Regions from separate parts of the Homo sapiens genome. Here region 1 is linked to region 2. The links are contacts of gene promoters, found by promoter capture Hi-C in blood cells and fetal thymus (Javierre and others, 2016). All regions are on one chromosome and are shown on one strand. Each heading gives the region's core, a stretch centred on a gene start or on the middle of the fragment in contact. The rest is flanking DNA. Distances are from core to core; before and after follow the strand shown. Region 1 has its middle 3.2 kb from the start of DCUN1D4. Region 2 holds the start of USP46 (ubiquitin specific peptidase 46).

Region 1 (2,700 bases), core at 69-2,568, 820 kb before region 2:
GTCTCCCTGTGTTGGCCCAGACTGGTATCAAACTCTTGGGCTCAAGTGATCCACCCACCTCAGCCTCCGAAAGTGCTGGGGTTTCAGGCATGAGCCACCATGCCCAGCCTGATTTCACTATCTTTTGAGAGCATGTTAACAACCATATTATTGTATCCTTATAAATAATCTCTGAGGTATATAGGGGCATATATTAACCTGATTAAAAAGAGAAGGAACTGGCCAGGTGCGGTGGCTCATGCCTGTAATCTCAGCACTTTGGGAACTGAGGCGGGCAGATCACCTGAGGTCAGGAGTTTGAGACCATCCTGGCCAACATGGCAAAACCCCGTCTCTACTAAAAACACAACAATTAGTCGGGTGTGGTGGCGTGTGCCTGTAATCCCAGCTACTTGAGAGGCTGAGGCAGGAGAATCACTTGAACCCAGGAGGCAGAGGTTGCCGTGAATGGAGATCCCACCACTGCACTCCAGCCTGGGCGACAGAGTGAGACTCCGTCTCAAAAGAGACAGAGAGAGAGAGAGAAAAGGAAGGAAGAAGGGAAGGAGAGAAGGAGGGAATGAGGGAGGGAAGGAAGGAAGGAAGGAAGGAGAAGGAAGGAAGGAAGAAAGGAGAAGGAAGGAAGGAAGGAAGGAAGGAGGGAAGGAAAGAAAGAAAGAAAGAAAAGAAGGAAAGGAAGAAAGAAAGAAAGAAACTAAAGCCCAACACAGGAATATTAAAAACATGGAGTCTGGCTACTTAGGGGCACGTTTACTTATTAGCTGGGTGGCAAGTTACCGAAGCTCTTGAAGCTTCAGTTAACTTACCTGTAGATTGGGGATACTATTAGTTATTAGTACTCCACTGTGTTGTTGTGAAGTTAAGTAGATTAGTTTACCAGTACAGTACTATTAGAGTAGTGCCCGTCACATAGGAAGCATTAAGAAAGAAGTTGTTATCACTTGGGACAGCAAATTCAGTTGGTCATATTTGGAGAAAGAAAACTATCCTGCCCTCTATGGATAAATTCTCCTTTCGGAGGGGGTTTATTTTCATTTCCAAATACTAGAAACCCACCTAGCCTGACATTTTATTACTAAAGGAGTTCTGCCAACTCTCTCACTGTAATCTAAGGCCAAATTAATTCCTCTCTGTCCTGTGTTCTTTCTTATTCTCTTTAAATCTTACCAGGGACACATTTATCTGTCTGTGCAGGCCCAACTTATTTTCAGTCTCAAGAACTATGCTATTCTTCCTCCTACTCCCAATCCCAACACATGCAGGAAAAGCATGCTACAGTGGGCTTAGCAGAATTTAGGGGAAAGCGTAACATTTGATTGAAGAGCTCTGCTGTTTTTTTTCTCTTACTAGACTTCTCCATATCACATTCTAATCTAGGCTTAGGGCATTTCAAAATATATCTGATTAAAATTAATATTGTATGACTAATAAAATAGAAAAATTCCAATTAAATTAGGTATCATTAACATGGAGTAACTTGCTTCAATATTACCTTAAAGCAGTAACTGGGTGAAATGAAATGGCATAAAGACTGCATCTCCAAATATCTCTACCCATCACAGTCCCAAGATATTCAATTATTAATTTTTTTCTCCAGGGATTCAAATATAAATGTACAGAAGTATAACATTATTATCTCAGTAAACCTCTCCATGGGGATCATGTTCTTTGGGAATACTACAAATGAGAAAAAAAAAAGTGAAGTATTGATTTACATATTGAAAAAAATCCTGAATGAAATACATAAAAAAGAAGGCAACATTTCAACCATGAAGCAGACTTGTATTAGATTGGCATAGTAACTTTCAGATGGGAAGGGAGAGTAGTTTACCTATCTTTGGAATTTGAAGCTTTGATATTAGACAGTGTGGTACAGGGGATAGAGTTGAGAAACCTGAATTTAAGCCCTGTTTTGTTATCAACTAGCCAAGTGACTCAGATTAAACATTTAACTCCTTTGGATGTCAAGTCTCTTATTTTTAAAATGAAGATGTTGGATTTGATAATCACCAAGGTTCCTATCCAGATCTAAAATTTCATGTACGGTAAACATTCATTTTAAGGGGTATGGTTAACCAGTGCCTACCACAATATTTGAAAGCATTGTACTAGGTGCTAGGCAAGTAAAAAGATAACTATAACAAGTTTCCTGATATCAGAGGTTTATATGGTGTGGATTATTTAAATGACCAGGTAATATTTGCAGAGCATTATGTAGTCATTTTATTATACTTTGTAAAACGTGGGGGCAGTGAGGGTCAGCCGACTAGGAATGAGCTTTGCCTCTCAATCCTTAGGCTATAGCTGACTCTTTATAAAGATCTGGGTAAATTACCTCTAAGTCTGTTTTCTACTTGAAAATAATCATACTGACTCAACTGAAAGCAATGTTGAGAAATAACAGAGGTTGTACATTCTATAAATTTTTATGGACACCATGCATATGCCAGGCCAGTGTTGGGAGCTGGGGCAAAGCAGCCGACCCATCCTTCATCTAGCTTAACTCTTATACACATTATTATAAAGTATGCTGCAAATAAATTAATAGAGCAAATGACTAGCTATAATTAATTGTGGGCTTATTGTAATTTAGAGGTGTCACGAAGGAAGCCCTTTTCTGTGCAAAATAACATGTGTCTCAGTCTTTGAAGTACCATGGTAAACGGTAAAAAAAAAAATCATAAATATTACACACACAAA
Region 2 (2,700 bases), core at 137-2,636:
ATCTTGCAACAGAATGTGGGACAGAAGATTTAAAAAGCTATGTGATGGGGGAAGGGCAGCCAGATCACCTTACACCAGGGCTTCTCCATCAAGCTTCCTTGGATTCCCTTTAGGGGCCAGTATTACTAGCTTCAAGGGAGGTTTTCCTCAAACTGGCACTGTAAGAGCACGTGTTGCCTCCGGGGACCCGCTTGGGAGGGGGCTAGAGGGGAGGCGGGGTGCAGTCTAAAGAATGTAGGCAAAACACACATCATCTCACCCTGCAAGGGACAGCAATGCCTTACTCCAATCTGAGCTCCCCAAAGGCTCTGACAAGTGGAGGCGCCAGCAGGGTCCAGCCTGGGGACCCAAGGGCTGGAGGTTCTTCCTACAGAAAAAGGGAAAGCAATGGGGGAAACCCAAATTAAAGTGACCACCGCATCATGGGCTCGGACTGCATCAGAACCCAGTGATGTCCCTGGCTGTATCCATGCCCGCCAGCCTCCCCTAGGTCTACAGCGGATCAGGCAGGATAACCCTGGAGACCTCCTCCAAGCCCACAGCCCGCCCCACCCTTAGGGCCTGCAAATATTACCGCCACAGAGCCTTGTCCCTTTTTCACAGATGGGGAAACTGAGGCATGCGGAGCAAATTACGGTGCTTTTTCAAACCAGGTTGAAGTTCACTTCTCCAGCCACAATTTTGCACTTTTTTTACAGCTTTATTACATTTCCGATTTCTCCAGATACACAATTGCTATTGCAAAGTGAATTTTAAACACCTCGGAAGGACTGAACTCAAAATGAGATGAGGGCAGTCTGGACGTCCAATAAGGCTGTCTTGACCGCAAGAAGAGGATGGGTGCCCCCCACCTCCAGCTTATCCCCCACCCCCTCCCCGGGGACGTTCAGGTTCGGTCGCTTCCCTTCCCTCAAGCCGCTTCCACCGCAACCCGAGGGCGGGGGGCGCAGCAGCGCGGCCCCGGGATCGCCGGGCGGGTTCCGAGGTCCCGGGGCTGAGACGGGCGCCGGGGGCTCGGGGACCCTCCCCGGCCGCTGAGGTGGCTGCGGCCGCGCGCCCAGCTCGGGGGCCGGGAACTTCTGGCGGCGCGGACCCCGCCGCCCCCGCCGCCCCAGCCACCGGGCGTGTGTGCAGCTCGGGCTTCCCTTTCTTTGCCTCGCCGCGAGTCGGGCGCGACCCCGAGGCGGCTCGGCCACTCACCATATTACAGATGGAGGCGATGTTTCGGACAGTCATTAGTCTAAAGGTTGCAGCGATCCCTCACCGCCATCTTTACAAGGGGAAACCGGGACTGCCCATGGTGGCGCGCTGGCGGGGAGGCCGGGCGGCAGCGCGGCGGCCTGGGGTCCGGCTTTCAGTTTGGCTGGGAGAGGGAGGCCGGGAGGAGGAGGCGGCGGCGCGGGGAGGGCGGGGAGGGAGCGCGGAGGGGCGGGGAGTGGCGGAGCGAGGGAGCCTGGGCCGCGGCCGGCGGCGCGGGGAGGAGGGGCGGCCCGGGCGCGCCGCGTGAGTCCGAGCCGGCCGCTCAGAGCGCTCCAGGCTGGGTTCCCGGGCCCCGCCGCGCCGCCTCCTTCCCAGCTCGCCCGCCCAGGCCTGGCCTCCTGCTTTTCCATTTGATTCCCTGCCTCTTTCTATTCGGACTGGAATGCCGGGCCAGGCTCCGGGGCGCGCCGCTGCGGCAGCCGCACCTCGCAGGTCCCCCGGCCGACCCCGACGCGGAAGCGGCGGCCCTCCTCGCCGTCGGGGAGCCAGGGAGCCGGGGACGGTACGGTGCGCGGGGTGGGGAAGCGGGCGGCCCAGGCCGGGGCGAACCCGGGGCCGCCTTCCGTCCTCGCTTTTTCCTCGTCGCCTTCCTCCTGGCGGGCCTCGGCAGCCCCCGGTGTTTATTTTTTGGCGAGGGGTAGGGGTGGCGACGTCCAACTTTTAGTTCCTCCCGAGGGTTCCAACCAGATGGCACCGGCGGGGACCCAAGAAGTAAAATGGGGCGAGGACACCGGAGCGGTCAGAGAGCCCTCGCCAGCTGCGGGCCGGGCGCCCGAGAAAGGGCGCCGGGAAGGGGGAGGAATCCGGGTCTGGGCGGAGGCCAGCAGCGGCGCGCTCGGGCGGCTTGTGACATTAGCGGGTCCAAAGGAGACGTCCCGGTTCCGCGCAAGCACTAGGGACTGTCCAAGGAGTGGAAAGAACGAAAACAAAACTTTTCCATATCTTCAAGGCAGGCATACCCCTCTCGGGTGCACCCAGCCTCTAGTTGTTGAGATGGGCGCTGTATGGGATCATGCACATTTCCCGCATTAAAGGTCGTGGCTGCGGGCTCAGAGCGCGAGTCTGTGCACCACTTAGCAGATAGGTCCACGCGAATTGAAGGGGCCCGTTTCTGAATGTGTGGAACAGTTACACATACAAGGTTGCAATTCGATGCTTTCAAAGGAGAAATTGTACAAGTGAGATGCGTGATAAATTCTTAGATCAGTGTATTTAATGACAAATTGAATCAGAAGAAAAATTAGTTGAAGATAGCTTTTATCTAACCAAGAGTAAAGATTTGAGAGCCGTTGATTGCTAATATCCCTAGAATCTGGGGAGGAAACAGTAAGACAGACTTGTTGACTGAAGGTTTTGGGAGTCATGTCACTGTGTTTTCCAGTGGACATGAGAAATAATATTCCTGCTTAAGTCTTTCAACCTAAATATTATTTCCAAATA

The links. Contacts are between HindIII fragments. The CHiCAGO score rates a contact against its expected background, and 5 or more counts as called.
Region 1: a contact is called between a fragment that was not itself captured here and the fragment with the promoter of USP46 in region 2, in 2 of 17 cell types (total CD8 T cells and naive CD8 T cells). The highest score is 6.4, in total CD8 T cells.

The regions. Positions count from the first base shown.
Region 1 is chr4:51,838,574-51,841,273 of GRCh38, forward strand. It overlaps a transcript of DCUN1D4 not described here. Among named protein-coding and RNA genes, the nearest start is that of DCUN1D4, 3.2 kb to the right of the region's middle. The HindIII fragment of the contact is 1,059 bases long and covers 790-1,848 here.
Region 2 is chr4:52,657,915-52,660,614 of GRCh38, forward strand. USP46 (ubiquitin specific peptidase 46) reads right to left here and starts at 1,387. Exons shown (of 9, transcript NM_022832.4): 1 at 1,201-1,387. The coding sequence starts at 1,236. USP46-DT (USP46 divergent transcript) reads left to right here and starts at 1,492. Exons shown (of 2, transcript NR_125363.1): 1 at 1,492-1,762. RefSeq lists silencers at 841-1,360, 1,371-1,800. The HindIII fragment of the contact is 3,165 bases long and covers 92-2,700 here.